Regions from separate parts of the Homo sapiens genome. Here regions 1, 2 and 4 are each linked to region 3. Evidence: promoter capture Hi-C in 16 types of primary human blood cells and fetal thymus (Javierre and others, 2016). All regions are on one chromosome and are shown on one strand. Each heading gives the region's core, a stretch centred on a gene start or on the middle of the fragment in contact. The rest is flanking DNA. Distances are from core to core; before and after follow the strand shown.

The links. The method cuts DNA at HindIII sites, captures the fragments that hold promoters and counts their contacts. A CHiCAGO score of 5 or more calls a contact.
Region 1: a fragment that was not itself captured here is called in contact with the fragment with the promoter of SYNCRIP in region 3 in 7 of 17 cell types (non-activated CD4 T cells, total B cells, activated CD4 T cells and 4 more); the score reaches 19.7 in non-activated CD4 T cells.
Region 2: a contact is called between a fragment that was not itself captured here and the fragment with the promoter of SYNCRIP in region 3, in 2 of 17 cell types (total B cells and non-activated CD4 T cells). The highest score is 8.0, in total B cells.
Region 4: a contact is called between a fragment that was not itself captured here and the fragment with the promoter of SYNCRIP in region 3, in 3 of 17 cell types (non-activated CD4 T cells, total B cells and fetal thymus). The highest score is 9.3, in non-activated CD4 T cells.

What each region holds. Positions count from the first base shown.
Region 1 is chr6:79,080,666-79,085,342 of GRCh38, forward strand. No RefSeq gene overlaps it. Among named protein-coding and RNA genes, the nearest start is that of PHIP, 4.8 kb to the left of the region's middle. The HindIII fragment of the contact is 1,520 bases long and covers 1,006-2,525 here.
Region 2 is chr6:79,059,687-79,064,105 of GRCh38, forward strand. PHIP (PHIP subunit of CUL4-Ring ligase complex) reads right to left here. Exons shown (of 40, transcript NM_017934.7): 5 at 982-1,132; 6 at 792-890. All of the region lies in intron 1 of LOC124901346 (a long non-coding RNA gene), which reads left to right. Among named protein-coding and RNA genes, the nearest start is that of PHIP, 16 kb to the right of the region's middle. The HindIII fragment of the contact is 218 bases long and covers 2,780-2,997 here.
Region 3 is chr6:85,640,194-85,644,550 of GRCh38, forward strand. SYNCRIP (synaptotagmin binding cytoplasmic RNA interacting protein) reads right to left here and starts at 2,693. Exons shown (of 11, transcript NM_006372.5): 1 at 2,604-2,693; 2 at 1,099-1,258; 3 at 253-371; 4 at 28-135. The coding sequence starts at 1,246. RefSeq lists silencers at 1,743-1,792, 2,013-2,162, 2,753-3,772. The HindIII fragment of the contact is 3,992 bases long and covers 328-4,319 here.
Region 4 is chr6:79,229,399-79,234,252 of GRCh38, forward strand. The region is part of intron 1 of HMGN3 (high mobility group nucleosomal binding domain 3); the gene reads right to left. HMGN3-AS1 (HMGN3 antisense RNA 1) reads left to right here and starts at 4,276. Exons shown (of 2, transcript NR_040671.1): 1 at 4,276-4,529; 2 at 4,664-4,854. RefSeq lists enhancers at 304-804, 3,822-4,612, 4,613-4,854 and a silencer at 4,560-4,609. The HindIII fragment of the contact is 1,276 bases long and covers 2,704-3,979 here.

The DNA.
Region 1 (4,677 bases), core at 516-3,015, 6.6 Mb before region 3:
GCTCCTTAAAAATTTTTTGGAAAATCCCCCTCTAAGTTTTCTAAACATGATGTTCCTGTCATTTTGATTGATTTTTGACAGTGTTTATATTTCTTTTTCAAATGTCCAATATGCAGATTGTTGTAACCTTCCCTTTGAACTATTGTCTGTTATAAGAAAATATACATTACCTGCTAAAAATTAAAACTTCCCTTCAGCCAAATAAACTATTTGTATTTAACAGTGGATATTGAATTGAATTTTACTAAGTCCTTTAAATGTAACAAATACTCCAAATAGCCCTTTTAATTTTCTTAAACATAAAAAACATTTGTGAATTATAGCATTGACAGTTAACTGTAAGATTTATTAAGTTGTTTATTGTACTTGTTTATGTACAAAGTCTGTAAATATCAAATAGAAAGAAAAGTCTTATTTGGAAGTTCTAGATTTTAGTTCCCAAAGCAATGATCCTTGCAATTTTTTGTTCAGCCAACTCTTTTGCATATAAGGATAGTTCAGATTCCATCTATATCCTTTCCTGTTTGTTTATTTTAACATTTTTATGGGTTTCCAAAAATAAAATATCACTTTAAAAAGATCTCCATGCAGTTTAAATAACAAGGTTAACAAATAATAGTAAAAGTTTGGAAAGCCAAGACCTAACGTTTTTACATAATATAGTCTCTCTAGGAGATATAGAAACTTTTCTTGAAATATAAAAGTTTATGTGAAATTCATCACTTTTCACGTGGCAACACATGAAACAAAATAAATATTTAACAAAAATTTTGTCTTGATCTTGTAAGCTATTATTCCAATAAAATAATCAAATACTATCATTTCAGTTGTTTCAGGAACAAGATGGGATGGTATTTATAAGTACAAAAATTATACATTTATGAAATTTAATCTCCAGTAGTATGGTGAATAATACGTAACTCAAAAAATCTCTATAAGTACAACTTTTAAAATTTCATGTTAAATCTTGCTTTTGTTTTGATGTTACATTTCTTCTATAGCAGAAGCTTTATCCTGTGAAATACAGAAATGTAAAAGTAGAAAACACTGTTCTCTCAAAAGTACTTTAAAAAAAACTACTCATCTGCCCCAAGAACACAATACAACTGTCAAGGATCTTATTTAACAAGCCACACTCCTCACTGTGGCTTGCTCCCCAATATTGTGTGTTTCTGTCCATGCTTATCTGACTTTCTCTCTCTCTTACACACACACACACACACACACACATATCCTTCTTCATAGAGCATGAATATTTATCAGATTTGAAGCACATGAACAGATATACTATTTGGCTGCTCCAAAAAGAATAGAGATAACCAACTTAAGTGAGCCATTCCATTATTTAACAATGTTTTTGTTATTTAACATTAACAGTTCTCCCTTATATCTCACTGAGGAATCTTTTTACTTAAATTAGAGCACGTTTCCTTTTAATGTGTAACAAATATAGCTAGTCCTCAACAATCATGTTATCCCTTATGTATTTAAATGTTAGTAATTCACTCAATCTTTTTTATCCAAGTTAAATAATTCTAGTAGTTTGTATTTTTATAAGTCTTAATTTGCACAAGAAATACACATCTTCATGGGTTTATTTATATAGTTTGTTTTAAATGATCACTTCATGAGTTTTAACAGTACAATTACAAAGATTAAAGGAGAAAAACAATTTTAGAACATATTCCCCTAAGATTTGGAGCAACACAGTGGATGAAGCAGAAAAAGCTGTTCCAGATGGCAGGAAACATAAAGGAGAAGTCTGTAGGCATGTTCTATCATAGGAAGATGTCTGATGGACTGGGAGTGGGCTGAGTTGAACAGAGAACAGTGAAAGAAGAGAAGGTAAAGTGGGGGAGGGGAGGAGAAAATGGGTGCAGAGGCTCTGGTAGTACACTATTATCTATGCGATGTTAAGATGGCATTTGAGAAAAACAGTTACATAGTCACTTGCCTTTATATGTGCCTAAAGCCATAAACTTCAGGAACCCCAAAGAAAAAGCATTTTAGTTATAGAAAAGGAAGGGAAAGTTTTATCTGACAAATAGTGAGGAATCTATACAGAGTAAAAATAATGGATATCAAGGACACCAAAGTAGACACTACTGATGACAAAGAAGAACAGGTGTTTGAAAGAATAAGGACTGAACATTCAGAGCACTCACAAGTCTGACTTGAGACTCATATATAAGTTCTAATTCAAAATTAAGAATAAAGCAACTTAGATTTAACTGTAACCAAAAATACTCTATTTTCTGAATTCCTATAAGAGACCTAATTATACAATCTAATTTGTATATTATTTTTGTTTTTCTTCATATATGGGGATGTGTGTGTACTTGCGAAGGTCCCCCTGACTTATGCCTCTGTTGCTTTATTCTCTTTCACAGATATTCTCATACATGTTTATTGAAACAATGACTAGCTATTACAAAAAAATTAGTTATATCATAGTTAAAAATTTAAAACAATATTGATACCAGGTAGATCTTTCAACCAAGATGTGTGTGCTAAAATTTAAGAAAAGCTTATAATTTGATTTTAAGATTACACCTACAAATCTTGTTACACTAACAGTTTTCATGTTTACACTTGAGTGCCTAAAAATACAGGTGCAGACGAAATGGCTGGAGTGGATTTTTAAATGCTCATCAAAATTTACCAACTGATAATGATTTATAGACAAACTATGATAGCCTTTAGATGGAATATTGTGGTAAGAATATATGTGGTATTTCCCCTTAACAGGTATCAGAAGTAATGCCTCTAAGACATCATTAGAGAAAATCTTTCTTAAAAATGTTGGGTAAGTAGCATCATGTGAGAAGGAAGAAGTATATTGTCTTTTTGTCTTATTATAGTTTGTACATGTTACACTTTACACTTGTTTTTGTCATTCAGTGTTTTGGGTTTTTTGGCAAGTACTTGTGTAAGAATTCCATCTTTCCCTGATATTCCGGCATTTTCAGTTTTTTCTGTGTCTCTGTAAAAGTTTCCTTCTTTTCCATCAGTGAAATGTTAGTTTCCAAAGGTAAAATACGGAAAATAAGATATGTAATTATTTGGAGAAACAATTCCCATGTTATATTTTCAGTTTGGATATATTCTAAGAACTCTAAAAATATAAATATGAATCTATTCTTTCCTCTTATAATTGGGACTGTCACACATTAAAATCTTCAACATCTCTTATTTTCAGGTTTCCTGGTTATTATACAAAAGACTAAAACAATTTAAAGAATTGGTGTCAAAAGGAGGAAAAAACATGTAGCCTGCCTCCCTGTCTTCCTTCCTTTCTTCCTGCCTTGCTTCCCTGCTTCCCTCTTCCTGCTTTCTTTCCTCTGTTTTTCCATAAGGAAAGAAATGAAGTGCTAAGTGGCAAACGTTTGCTGTTTGTGCAGTATGTATTTGCATTTTTGTGTTGCCAAATTTTTCTTATTTCAACATTTTTACCGAAGTCCAGGTAAATGTGGCCCTCTTCAGATGTTAGATTTTACTGAGTTAGAGGAATTACTAAATTTTAAAAAAAGTTTTTGCATTTTTCACACTCCATAAAGTTTTCAGGACTTACATAAACTTAAACCTCTCTATGGTTAATATTGCTTAACTTCACTTCTTTGAGATATTTAGATAACTTGTTTCATTTTCATTTTTAGATCCAGATCGTATTATACCTTAAAAAAATTTAGATCAGTTTGTGTTGAACACACAATGGCAAATTTCCGTGGCACGATAGTGAAGATACTTTCCCCTAAAGCCTATTAACAGGCATTCTTCTATTAGAATAGTAATTACAAAGGTAATTTCCTCTGTTAATCACCCAACTTTTTTCCTGTTATTATTTTATGATCTTTTCCCTTTTTACTACTCATAATATTTTAATAGAAATTTTTTTAATGTTAAAAAAGATGAAAAAAATAAGAACTTCTGTCACAAGTTCTGGTGTTCTGCATTGCTGTGAAGCTGTGTTTTTTTTTTCCTGGGCAAAATTATTTAAGATGACATAAAAACCCAAAGTCAACCTCTAACATCTGTCCTTGGCCCTTATATGTCATTCCTACTACTATAGTATTCTCATTGCAGCGTTATTCCTTTCTCTCTGTGTGTCAGCTGAAGAACCATCATTTAAACACTTGCAGTTTGACCCTCATTATGTACTTTGTTTCAACACATGGAGATGCCCAGCTTACTAGAGGCTGATAATCTGAAGCAGCAGTGACCCCTCTAACCACAACATCTGGAAAACAAAGGTTGCATAATCTGGCTAGTCTCCAGAAATTTTCAGTTATTAAAATCTGACTTTGTTTAACAGCAATAACTCAATTTATTGAATGGATTGCAAGAGATATGAATCAATGGCTATATATACCATTCAAATTTAACTGCAAAGAATTCACATTTTTGAAACAATGAGTATTTCATATAGACTATGTTTCTGTATCTTAACCTAATTGCTTTTAGTACAAAATGTATATATTTTACAATGCTAGCCGGAATAAAGTCTACCAAGTTATTTTTAGCATCTGCAAAACAACATGCTAAAACTTTGTGAAGTAATCACTTGAGTGTGATAGACTCTTGAATTTTTTTTCAAAACACTTTTTGAGTGAGGGTATTATTTTCATATTTTAAAATTAACAGTTAATTTATAACAGATTATTTTTATTTATACAATAT
Region 2 (4,419 bases), core at 1,639-4,138, 6.6 Mb before region 3:
GAATTAAGTAAGATTTGAACAGGTGGAAGAAAGAAGAGTAACATTCCTGGCTAGGCAGGAACATGAGAGTGGAAAAGAAGCTATGATTGAACTTTGAAGGTCTCTGAAAATTAGGAGTACACTTAGAGAAAGTACAACACTATTAAAATATCTTAACCTCTTTATACTATCTTCAGCAGAAGAGTGACACAACAAAGGTAGAACTGAATAAGGTTACTATTACAGTGTTACACACTATACTGGGAGGGAGAGAGAGATAGAAGACACCATAGGCAAGAAGATTAGTTTGGATGATGCTGTATTAATCCGGGTAAGGCAAGGGCCTGGTAGTAGCAGATGTGAAAGGCATGAACCTAGGAGGCATCTCAAGAAGACATACTTGCATCAGTACTCCCTCTTTGAAACTTTAGCCAAAAAAAGAAAAAAAAAAAAAAGTACTGTGCTCTTAAAAAGATAACTACTTTTGTCTCCTACCATTATAACTAATCTGAATTATATATTGATTCTACTAACTCGACCTAATAATATATACCTTAATATGGAACTTTCGTAAAAATAAAATTCCAATGAGCTAATTGGCCTACATAAGGTGCAATGTGCACAATCCCTCATTATACATGACTTTTTCACTATTAAAACTACTACTAAGAAAAAAAATCTATTTTTTTCTTTTTGAATGCAGATGTACATAATATGAAGTTCTCTAATACCACAGTAACTAAAAAACCTTTTCATTTTCAAAAGCTCTTTACCAAGAGGCTATTAACTACTAGTGAACTCAAACAACTCACCAATGCTGGGTGGGCTACCATAGTTAACTGGTGACTCAGGTGGTCTTCCACAGTGCAACGCAGCCAGAGCAGATCCTTTCCACACAACATGCTTGCAGCCTATTAAACACATGTATTTTTATGCATACAAAGAACACAAAAACAAAAGTGAGATAAATAATGTCTAAATCCTATGAGAAAATTTTCATACTTTTATTTGTGCGTAGTAAAGACTGTCTTCCAGCTCCTAATAAAGTTTGTACTCCAGGAACACTTTGAGGAATTTCTTGTTCAAGAAGAGGTCCTAGTCGATGACATATTTGCAGCAAGTGATCAGGTGCTAAGTGTCTGTAATACTTCACCTATTATGTAAAAGACAAATATAGTAGGTTTCAGTTTATCATTTTAATTTTCAAAATCTTTGAGCAACAATAAAAAAATTCATCCAAGTATAAAATATTTTGTTTTGCGTCTTTGATGTAAAGTAAATCTCCAGAATAATTAAGAATTAAGAACTGATAGTTTGTTATTAAAAAATTTAAGAACACTTAACATCTATGCTGAATTTCATAATTTACCAAAAACCTTACAGAGAGAAAGGCAAAATTCCAACTGCTGCTTTAAATATCTTTCAATCATAAAATAAAGCTACCCACTATAAAAAGTTTGAGCACTTTTGGAACAACTTCAAAATACTGCTTAATTTATACCGGCATTTGAAACCATGACATGAAATGCTAATATTTTTATTAGTCTTTCAGTAAATAAACAATATTCACTATCTAAATAAAATTATATTGGAAAAAAATACTATTGTATTACTTCATAATTAGCTATCAAGTTAGAAAAAAATTTCCACAGTAGTATCTAGTTCAGCTATTCTCAAAGTATGTTTTGGGAACCCCTGGAGGTCCCTCAGATAAAACTTATGAATAACACTATATTAGTTGTTTTTCACTTTTTCTCATGAATGCACGGTGGAGGTTTCCACAGGACACATAACATGTGATGTCTTAACAGACTGAATGCAGAAGCAGATAGGAAAATGTCTCCTCTATTAAGCCAGATATTAAAGATTCACAGAAATGTAAAACAATGCCACGCTTCTCACAAATTTGTTTTGTTTGGGAATAATTATTATAAAAATGTTACTTATATTAAAATAAGATTAGTTTATTAGTATTATTTAATAGGTCTCCAATATGTTAAATGCTAAGTTTCTAATATGGTAAATACCAATAGATTATAAGCTACACAAATAAAGGAACTTCAATACATTTTAGTAAGTGTAAAGGGGTCCTAAGACCAAGAAATTTGAAAATTGTTCCTCAAGTTTACCAAGTAATGGCAACTTTAACATGAATTCCTTTTGATAAGACTGATGTGGGGGGAGGTGAGGATTTAAATCATCTCATTCCATCTTGCAATATCTGCTATACTCTTAACTGCAGAAATCCATGAATGATATGTTTTTAAAGGTAGCTAATACCCATCTAAACTGAAGCCAATAGGAGAAACCTACCTTACTCTTTATCAAAATACACTCCTTCTTTCACAAAGATAACATGGAGCCATACTGCCACCAAATAATCTTTGGTAAGATTATTTAAAACAGCAGTTTGGCATACAGTAGGTGATAAGCCAGTAAAATGAGTATTTTTGGAAAAAGGAGTTCTAATACAGTTTGTATCATATGAATTATACATATTACCTCCTTGTTTTGCAGTCAAAAAGCACACTGACATTGAAGTCTCTGAAAAATCCTGAGATTATTTCCCAAACTCATTTAGCTACAGAATCCCTTTTTTCCCTAATAATATCTATCATATTCACTCAGAACATACTTTAGGAAACACTAGTATGATTAGCTAAATTAAAAAGCATTTAAAAGAAAACTTACCAAAATGAGTTTTTAAAATCGTATACTTTTCTTTAATCTTCCCCAAAATAATTTACTCAAAAATAAAATTTAGAAGTCTAGAATACTTGTAAGGTTGCTTCCAGTTCTAAGCTTGCAAATGATTATTTTAATGTGACTTAATTGATCAAAATTCCTTTTAAAAATTTTACTTTAAAGAAGATGGAAGTTCATTACTTATTAACTTCAGATGTGTGATGATCCTGTTTTAGTATCCTCTGGCAAAATATATTTTCAGGTAGTGAAACTGAAAATCCTTACTGTAATATTCTATCTTTCAATAAAATATTATGAATCCACTCTGACTCAAGCTTTCTTTGGTGATTTAGAATGTTTGAATTTTTCAAAATCAACTTTCATTTTAAAGTTAGAAGAGATACTTCCAGTTCTTAAATTCCTTGTGCTTTCTCTGGCTTTTGAGACTTTATACAAGCTGATGCCTCTGCTGGCAATCTTGTCTTACCTGCTCACCTCTACACCTCATTCTCCTTCATGTCTCAGTCTATGTCTCACTCACTGCCTTCCATGACCTATTTACACCACCTGTGCCCCTTTTTGGACACTTTGTGTTCCCACAGCACATTATACTCCTCGAATGTCCCTTCATCCCTCTAGCACTGTGTAGTACTTACCATATTAATTGTTCTTAATATATTTTGATACTTAGACTTTTAAGAATCTAATGACAGCTACGATCTTCTTCCCTGCAAAAATACACAAGCCCTACCATTATGTGCCCTGTTTTGGGGGTTCATAAGACTCATGCACTATACTAAAATTGCCAGTTTACTTGTCTGTGTCCTGCATAAGGAGAGATTGGGCCATGTTTACCTCTGTCTACCCAATACCTAATGCAGTACTTATAGTTAAGTGCTTAATAAAGTTCTAGTTGGATATATGAAGATTTAAGAATATGCAGAAACGACTGACTTCCCCACTCTCAAAAAACCCAAAACATTTTGTTAGCACCTATCCCAGCACATAAAAATAGATGCAGTAAAATTTTTTTACATGGTATAATTCTTTATTCTAATAGTTTTGGGGTGAGTTTGTTTGTTTTGAGACGGAGTCTCCCTCTGTCACCCAGGACGGAGTACAATGGCGGGATCTCGGCTCACTGCAACCTCCGCCTCCCAGGTTCAAGTGATTCTCCTGCCTCGCCTCCCGAGTAGCTGGAATTACAGGCGCCCCACCACCTAACCTGGCTAATTTTTGTATTTTTAGTAGAGACGGGGTTTTGCCATGTTGACCAGGCTGGTCTCGAACTTCTGACCTCAAGTAATTCGCCCCCTAGGCCTCCCAAGTGCTGGGATTACAGGCATGAGCCACAGCGTCCGGCCAATTCTAACAGTTTTAAAACACTTTTTAAAGAAAGCCTTAGAACATGTCTTCAAACAAATTTTAGACAAAACAGATTAAAGTAAAGGTACTCAGAAAGTATCTTACTTAAGTGGCATCAGGGAACACATATCTCAATGCTTGACTCTCTACTTGCTTCCTCTTAGCAGTCCCTGAGGTACCACCATGAAAGGGTCTCTGGAAAGAACAGTGGAAACAGACTAACAAACAATGCTATTATCCTCTCTTTCCCAAGAATCCTCTTCCCCACCCCTCATTTTCTCAGCAGATGACCTAACCTACTTTACAGGAGAACCTTTTTTAAAGCTGAAGCTTTGTTTCTTCCCTATCAAATCTGTAAACCTATCTACACCTGTACCAATTCTGTCTCTT
Region 3 (4,357 bases), core at 1,443-3,942:
AACTAAAGGGAGTATAGAAAGACATACCTTAATTTTTGCCTCATCTGGTCCTTTACTAGAATCTGCTACTTTGGTCCCTTGTTTTTCTCTCTGCCTGTAAGTCTTCATGACTCCACATAAAAAGGCACTTTTGTTCTGCAAAAAAATGTTCCATTAATATTTAACAATAACCATATCTGAGTCTAATAAAATTCAGCAGATAGTATCAAAACTACTCAAATTTTTTAATTTTCACATTGACATTAACATTACCTGAACATGAGAGAGATCACTGTCTTTAAACTGTTGAAGAACTGCCAATGCACCGTCTTCATTGAATTCTTTTAAAGCTTCAATAGCTCTTTCATCTAAATCACTATGTGCAACTAGCCCTGAAAAAAATAAAAGTTATCAGCTTTTAATATTTTTAGAAAAGATTTTTTAGAGAAGACTATGTTGGCAATACAGGTACATGTGTGCCTTTACAATTCTTCTACTCCCCTCATCTATACCTGAAAAAAAAAAAACACACACTTCAGCCACTCTGAACTGAATCCTGAACTAAATATGCCCTACCAACCACACTTACAATAATCAGCTAACTTCTTTTACATCTTTTATCTCCAAAGTCTGATAACTCTGAACACTACGGTATTTTTACAGTATACAGACTTACGAATCCTAGAATCAACCAACAAAGTACCAAGCATGACAACTGAACCTCTACTCAATTTCAAATACCACCAGAAAAAGTTAACAGCCGCACCAGAAAGACAAGAAAACAAGTCTACAGTTACCAAGTTATTTAAGAAGAATCCTACTATAAAAATACTCAAAAAAGTCACATGGCCTGTTCCCAACATTTAGCAGCTGTTGCTACTATCATATACTTATCCATCAGGCCAGCATGCAAGCCAGCCTTTAGCTCCTAACCTTCTCTTCTTCCCTCCCTCTATACATCTTAACCTCTACTTCAAACTTAAATTAACCAACTATCACAACAAGCAAAACTCCAGTACCCACACTTATTGGAAACCACAAAAAGTTGCTATTTTAGCTCAAAGCCAGAAATCCAATAGAAAAATTTCATAATGTAATTTTGCAAGTGTTAGTTCTTACCTGCAACGTAAATTTCATCTAGTTTTTCAGCAACTTTCTGTGGTAAACCAGCATCAAGCAATGTCTGAAAATTTTCTGAATGGATAACTGCAGAAGTAGTATCCATGGGCTCTTCAGTACCATTTCCATTAACATGTTCTGTAGCCATGTTTCCAGAGATCTGTTCAAACGCAATAAGCAAAATTAAACTAGGATCTTCAAAAAGAATACAAGACAATATGAGAGCCCCATCTTTACTTTCTCTACCATTTACTACACCAGCTAGCCTATACCTCCCTTTAAAAAAGCCTTACAGTCACTATCGCCTGACAAGCCAGATTTGGAGCACAGGGCACAGAAGGACCGATTCACCATATTCTTCCTCAGCACCACCCCTGACTCACCTGCTAACACTCCCTAGGAAAAACCATATTACAAATAGAGCCCAATCAGCACGGGTACGAGCCAGCGTGCCACATGCAGCTGTGCCCGTTCGGAAAATGAGGTGTGTGTGGAGAAAGCAAAACTGGGCTCCTCTCTCTCAAAGATAAACCCCCAAAGTGCGCGCTTTTCCCGCCTGCCGCTTATAGATCGGTAACAACAGCCAGCGAAGAACAAAGCGCTCATACAAGCCACCTTCCCACCACCCAATTTCTCCACCCTTTAACCCCGCACCCCAAAGCCCGCCCCTGACTCCGCACCCAGAGCGGCAGTCTCACCACTGCGGCCGCCAGGAGCCCATTAGAAACACGTGCTCTGCGCCTTCCAATGTCCTACAACTTCCTTCAACGGCAACCCAACGAATCCCAAACCAAGACGACCATCACTGGTTCCCAACATCAACCCGAAGCCGCGGTCGGAGCCCCCAGAAAGCTGCAGCAGCACAATCTCTCCCCTGAACACCGAGGCACCGGCGGCGCCAGGCCACAGGCTCTCCCCGCCCCCCAGCGCCGCCGTCTCCGCCGTGACACATGGCTCTCCGCCCCTGGCGCTCCCCGGGCGCCGACGACCCCCGGCCGCCCGCCCGGCCGAGACGTGACCCGTGGCGCGCTGTGCAGGTCCCCACCCCTTACCCTTCCGTGCAGTGACTGCGACGCCTGCCCGGCAACCCAGCAGCGTGAGGGCGTTCAGCGGACGGCTCAACGCCCGCGGGACCGTGAGCACCGCCCAAGCTCGCCGCACGGCTGCAGGACAAGACCCACTCCTCTCCGCCCACTCCCGCGCCGCGGCGACCGCCACGACAGCACCAACTCTGAAGCCGCTCGCGGTCCGTGCGGGCCACGGGACCGTGGAGGCGCCTCCTCCCAAAGCGCCGCAGACAAAGCCCGAACCGCAGCAGCACATGGAAAGGAGGAAGTGGCGGCGCGGGCCGCGGCCTACTCCCAGGCAGCCCCAGTCAACGTGCTCTTCTCCCCATTGGAATCCATTTTCCAGAAAAGCCGGTTTCTACCCGCGCCACCCTCCCCCAGCTCACTCCACAATGTCATGGAGCTCCCCTCCCACACCCAGGTTCTGGCAGTCGTTACCTCCCCGTTGGGCTGAGGCGGAGAAATCCTGTCCGATGGTATCGGGTTGCGGGAAACGCGTGCTCGCTGCTCCCTGTGTCCGGCGCGAGTGGAGCTGTTGTAAAATGGCGGCCGAAGCTCACGCCGCTGGCAGCAAACCCGATCCAGTTCCACTCGCCTCCGAGCGCGCTCCCGGTGCGCGCGCGCGCCCCCGCGTGACCCCCCCTTCCCTTCCCTTCCCTTCCCTCCCCTCCCTCGCGCGTCCGCTTCACTCACTCCCTCAGCCCCTGCCCTCCTCCAGCTCCTCCTTCTCCCCCTACCACCACCACCACCACTAGCCTCTGTCCGCCTTCTCTCGGCCTTTCTTATTCCCGCCCCCCGCTCCTTTACCCCACTGCTCCCACTCCCCTCTGCGGTCGCTCAGGCACGAGTGGCCGCCTTTCCCCTTCTGGCTCGCACGCTCCCTCACTCCCTCCCTCGCTCGCTCGCACTCTCGGCCCGGTCCCCCAGTCCCTGCCGAGTCGGCTCCTCTCTTTCTCTCTCCCGCGCTGACGTGACAACGTAGCCTACGCCTCGGGACGCGCGCCCGCGGGCTCCGCCCCCACGCCGCGCCGCCTTCCCCGCTCCTCACCCCTTGGGTTGGGGGTGGGGGAGGCACAAGACCCCGCCCTTCCGCTCCGACGGTGGCGGCCGAGGGGCCGAGACTGAATGAAAGGCCCGCCCCTTCCCCTCCCGACACTCCCCCTCCCTCTCCCCTCCAGGCGGGGCGGGCCGGCTCAGCGTGTCCCACTCGTTTTCCTTTGTCAGGAGACTGGCATCTCCCCACCCCGCCCCACCCCACCCCCTCCCCGCGACACCATGCGCACGCCACCCCCACCGAGCTCCCGCCCGCCCCATCCCTGCCCGGTCCGGGGCTGGCGGGGCAGAGTGCTGTGGGCGCTGAGTGCGACTGCCGCTTCCCGGAGGGCACCCACCGGTCTGTGCGCGCCCGGCCCCCGCCCCCGGCTCCGCGGCCGCGTAGCCGTTCCAGGCGGTGTCCACGCCGCTGCCACCGCCCCGCGCTCTCCTCCTCGGGAAGCTGCAGGCGCACGTGTCCCCCGGGGCGGGGCGAGGCAGACAATGGGGCCAAGGGGGAGGGGAGCGGCGCGGAGACCCGCGGACCTTTGGTCCGCCGGACTGGCGGTACTCGAGTGCGAGAGTCGCCCTTGGAGACTCGATCTCCCCAACTGGACAGTGGGCCCTCCTCGCAGCCGCGCGGCTCCGCTTTCACGGGAACCTTCGGCGAAGGGAGGGGCGCCCCAGGCTTGGACGCGGAAACCCCGGCTGCTTTTGAAGGGGGAACGGGGCTGGCTCCAGTGGAGCGAGGAGCGGCTCCTGCCTTGGGATGACACGAAGGCCAGATTTGGAAGCGAAACCGCCCGGTGGTGAAGGGTTGTGCAATACTCCGTTTCAGTCCCTGGCCTTTTAAGCAGTTAAGGGCTTCCTCCTGGCACAGTTTGAGCAACTTGAAACAGCACAAAGCTGCGTGGTTAGAACAACTTTGAGAAAAATGTCTGTGTTTCTTTTAAAAAAAACCTTGGCAACTAAATCTTCTGTGAAATGACGTTTCCTTTATAATCGTTTACTAGGTACAAGAAAGACAAGACAAAGGCATTTGAATTACAGACGCGATATGGATACTAATTTTATCCAGGGCAGCTGTAATGAAAAATAGAAACAATGTCCTTTTGATTAAAAAGCTTATTTTTAAGAGCTTACTGGTTCCCCAGATGAGC
Region 4 (4,854 bases), core at 2,092-4,591, 6.4 Mb before region 3:
ATATGATACACATTATGCTAGTAAACACGTGAAAAGATGCTTATTGTCAGTAGTTATTACAGAAATATAAATTAAAATTCATAAGAATCTCTATAAGCAAAAAATCAACAATACCAAGTATGAACAAGTATGTTGAAATTAGAACGCATGCACTTTGGAAAACAGTTTGGAGGTTCCTTAAAACGTTAAACATAGACGGCCGGGCGCCGTGGCTCACACCTGTAATCCCAGCACTTTGGGAGGCCGAGACGGGCGGATCACGAGGTCAGGAGATCAAGACCATCCTGGCTAACACGGTGAAACCCCGTGTATACTAAAAATACAAAAAAATTAGCCGGGCGTAGTGGCGGGCGCCTGTAGTCCCAGCTACTCGGGAGACTGAGGCAGGAGAATGGTGTGAACCCGGGAGGCGGAGCTTGCAGTGAGCTGAGATCGCGCTACTGCCCTCCAGCCTGGGCGACTGAGCCAGACTCCGCCTCCAAAAAAAAAAATGATAAACATAGACTTTCATACCACCTGCCAGTTCTACTCTTAGAAATCTTCCCAAGAGAAATGAAAATATATGTCCATGCAATCACTTATTTACAAATATTCACAGCAGCATTATTGATAATAATCCAAACCTGGAACAATCCAAATGTCCATCACCTTGTGAAAGGATAAACAAAAATGAGTATATCCATACAATGGAACACTACTGGACAATAAAAAAGAATGATGTACTGATATATGCTACAACACAAACTGATCTCAAAAACATCATGCTGAGTGAAAAAATCAGTCACAAAAGACTACATATTGTATCATTTCTTTTAAATAAAATTTCCAGAAAAGGCAAATCTAGATACAGCAAAAGTAGATTAGTGCCTAGGGCTAGGCTGGGAGTGGGGATTGGCTATAAACTCCATGAGGGACCTTTGTGGAATGATGGAAATGTTACAAAACTGGATTATGACAATGGTTGCGCAACTCTATACTTTACTAAAAATCACTGAATTGTATACTTCGAATGGATGAATGGACTTTATAGTAAGTAGATTATACTCAATAAATGTTTTAAAGGAAATTATACTCTCATAACTGAGAGTGCTGAGTGTCTATATCCCTCAGCACTAGCCAGTAGGTTTTTAATCTTTTTTTAAACCAGATTGGTTATTTTAAAAATTACATCTCATTATTCTTAATATTGTACATTTCTTTGATTTCTAGTAAAACCAAACATTTCTGTCTACTTGAGTCTTCATTATTTTCCTATAAAGATATACATCTTTTCCATAAGGAAATGTGAGATGCTATCTTTTTAAAACAGCAAACCTTTTTCAGTGATATGTGGTACAAATATTTTTTCCCAGTTTTTCATAAATTTAAAAATTTTGTTAACAGTTTTTTTTCCCATATTGAAATATTCATTTTCATGTAGCCAAATTTATCTGTGTTTTCATTTACAGTTTCTGTTTTTGGTGTTATGACAAGTAATATTCTTTTCAAAATTAACTATCACAAACCTTGATCATGGTTAGTTAAGCATCCCCTGTGCTAATAAGCCCAATGCTACTGCTACTGGGCCTTCCATTTTAAGGAAACAGATAAAAACCTAATTTTGAGTTTCAAAGCTAGAGGCAGATGGGCTTTCCTTCCTTAAACCTTTAAGTGTCAAGAGACATGACTGCTTACATGCCACATTCATGGAAAATTGCCTCATTAGAGAATTTCTGATGTGATACACTAGACATTTAAAATAGTTCTAGTGATAAGGAACTGGAAAATATTAATAAAAAGAAAGAGGTAAAAATGTGTTTCCTGTCGCTAATCATGCCAGGACTGTGACTCTAGGCCTCGCTGGCTCATGTCTCTTCGTAGAACATCAAATCATCACATAACAACATGACCACTGCGGGCATTTGTGGATGTCTGGCCAGAACAGTCTAGAACTCAATCACTCATTGTCTCACCACTGAGTCCATGAATGTTATCATTTCCCCTGTAATTCCACTCACCCACCATCCATTATCTAAAAAATACAGGAAACTCACTTTTATTTACATCTCACAAACTTAGAGATAATATGCACTGAAGAACTCTTCACTAAGTGCTGTATTACTTCACAAAATACTATGGCATTTATAAAAAACCACTTGGCTTAATGTAGTTATGACTATCACACACAAAGATACACATAAAACTTACAAAGAAATGTCATCAGAACATTTTAATATTAATTCAGATGATATTATAGCCCTGAAGTTGCAAAACTGAGGCCTGGTCATGTTAAGATACAATCAGGAGACACACTTGAATACCTGGTAACAAAAAATGACTCTGACTTCTTTGTATATTTGAGTCCTACCCACACTTTTAAGACCAGCCTAAAGTTAACTTTCCTTATCTGTCCTACTGCTTGTGGGATCTATAACTACACATTCTGGAACACATACACAGTTTTAATGTTATTCAACTGTTTTGTGCTGCTAGTCTTATCACCTCATTGAATTAAACACAAGTTCCAAGAGGGCAAAAACTGTATGTCCCTACAGCATTACAACAGGGCTAGGATTCCAGATGTTTTCATTGACTTTATCTGTACCACTTCTTGCTCTGCAGAACAACTTACTCAGATGTTCATTAAATAACATTTCTTGATTTCTAGGAAAGGTTGATACAGGGGGCTAAGAAGGCAAAAAAGTACTAGGGGGACATTTTAAAAGCTTATTATATTGTAGAGCAGACAATTCTTTAGTCAAGAAAAATATTGTGTAGTATGTAAATGCTTTGGCAGTTACCCCAGCTTTGAAGATCTTGAAGAGCTATGCATGGATTGTCTCCAGTTCTTTTTTGTATCTAAGCAGGCTTTACCTAATGACAGTGGTTCCTCACATAAGTTCCAGTGAACTTCAGGATTCCATGAGGCTGCTCTAAGACTTGACTGATAGATGGATGGCCATGATCGCCGTGTTTAATCTGAGGTTGTTCCTGCCCAGGTACCAACTGAGGTCGTTAGGCTTCAGGTATAAATGGAAAGCCTTCCTATTAATCAAGGAGAGGTTTTCCATCACCGGAGAACACTCTGATGTCCTCAGGAATGACACACAGGTGCCTGTACACAGTTTTGCCCCTAGTCTCAGGACCATTGGCTAGCTTATGCATGGGGGTTCCCTGCCTTCCAGGGAAATAAAACTGTAGCTGTAATTTTACTGTTATTTTAGTTTTTTTTTTTTTTCCTTCCGTCTCCTTGAGAGAGGCAGACAGGGGAAGTAAGAATAATGGTTTCAGCAGCTCTGGCCCTTGAATAAACAGCAAGGAAGGGTTCCATCGTCAGGGTCCATTATACATAAAGTGTGCACACCTAACCTACTGTTTATGTAAACAATGGTTATAATTCCCAGGAAAAAAAGATGGCCTCCAGCTCACTTACTCTGTAACCCGTATCTTGATGATTAGTTCCTTTGTCTCTACTAGAATTTCCAATCCATCATTAACCCTCAGTCAAAATGCTGAAAATGGTGACATCACTTAATATCCTAATTCTAGTAAAACAGGGCTAGAAAATACCTTCATAAAATTAAGTTTAAATAATAAATCTCAAGTATTAGTGCTCTTAATATGCCATCTGTCTTCTTAAACTGGGAGTACCTTTGGATTTCCTTAATTCCTCTTGACCCACCCTTTCGTAAGTGAGTACGAAATGGGTGAGAATAAGACTTTGGCATCTATAGCATCTGATTAAATCTTTACTAGTAGTTATTGGTTGGTGAGATGCAGGACAATTTATGTCTTTAAGTCCCAGCTGAATGGGGGTAACACCGCTCAAGCTGTTTTCAGGATTAAATGAGATAATGCAAGTCAAATTCTGCACAGCGTGAGGGACACAGTATGTGCACAACAAACTCTAAGACTTTTAAACACTTTCAATTATTTTTAAAAAGTGGGGTAGGAGACAAGTTTCTACCCAATTTTTAGTAATAACATATAAGAAGGGGAAAGCTTTTGAATTTTTAAAACTTCAGTATTTTAAAATAATGCAGTCACTCTCACACACAAATTAGTCCATGGTCTTTGATAAAGCAAGACATTAGGTGTAATTTTGCTTCAAATTTAATACCCACACTCGTTGACACTGTTGGAAACACTGAGGCTGGCGGTGGGAGGGTGCAAAGCACTTGCTTAGGAACCAGCTGAGAAATCCTCACTGATTTCTCAGGGAGGAGGAAACCTTTCCCTTCCCTCCCCGGGACAAGTCGAAGCCCCACCCCGAGGGAGATTTGTGTCCCTGAATGTAGTAGTTGGTGTCCGGGGCCTGCGCAGAAGAGGACAGTCCGCAAGGGGCGGAAGACAAGACAAAAATGACTCCAGTTCGCTAGACGCGCAGAGGGGCGGATAGCGCGCGGACCCCGCCTTCCCCAACCGAGTGTGGGTTCCAGTCGCTGGGGAGGACCTGGTGGCCCCCTGACCTTGGACGAGCCATATTGGACGCCCCGGCGCCGTCCCGTCTTCCACGCTGCCAACTCCACCGCTCCCGCCCCGAACTGCGGGTAGGTCCAGGCCGCCAGGCCCCGCCTCGCCGGCCCCAGCCCTGATTGACACTGGAGTTGGTACATACGGGTCTGCAGCGGAGGCGAGCAGGAGGGTGAGCGCTATTTTAAACATGGCTTTCTCTTTCCCTTAGCCTAGGAGCCACCGCAGCGCACCCAGCCCGCGAGTACAGCCGCATGGGAATAATCCCAACATTTGCCTGATTTATTTTCTTCCCTCTCCTTACGCTTGTACTTGTTTTTCTCCTCTCGCTGTTTTCCCTTCACACTAATTCGCAACCTGGCAGTTTGCAAAGAGGAAACTCCCTTTCGGAATGGAAAGCCG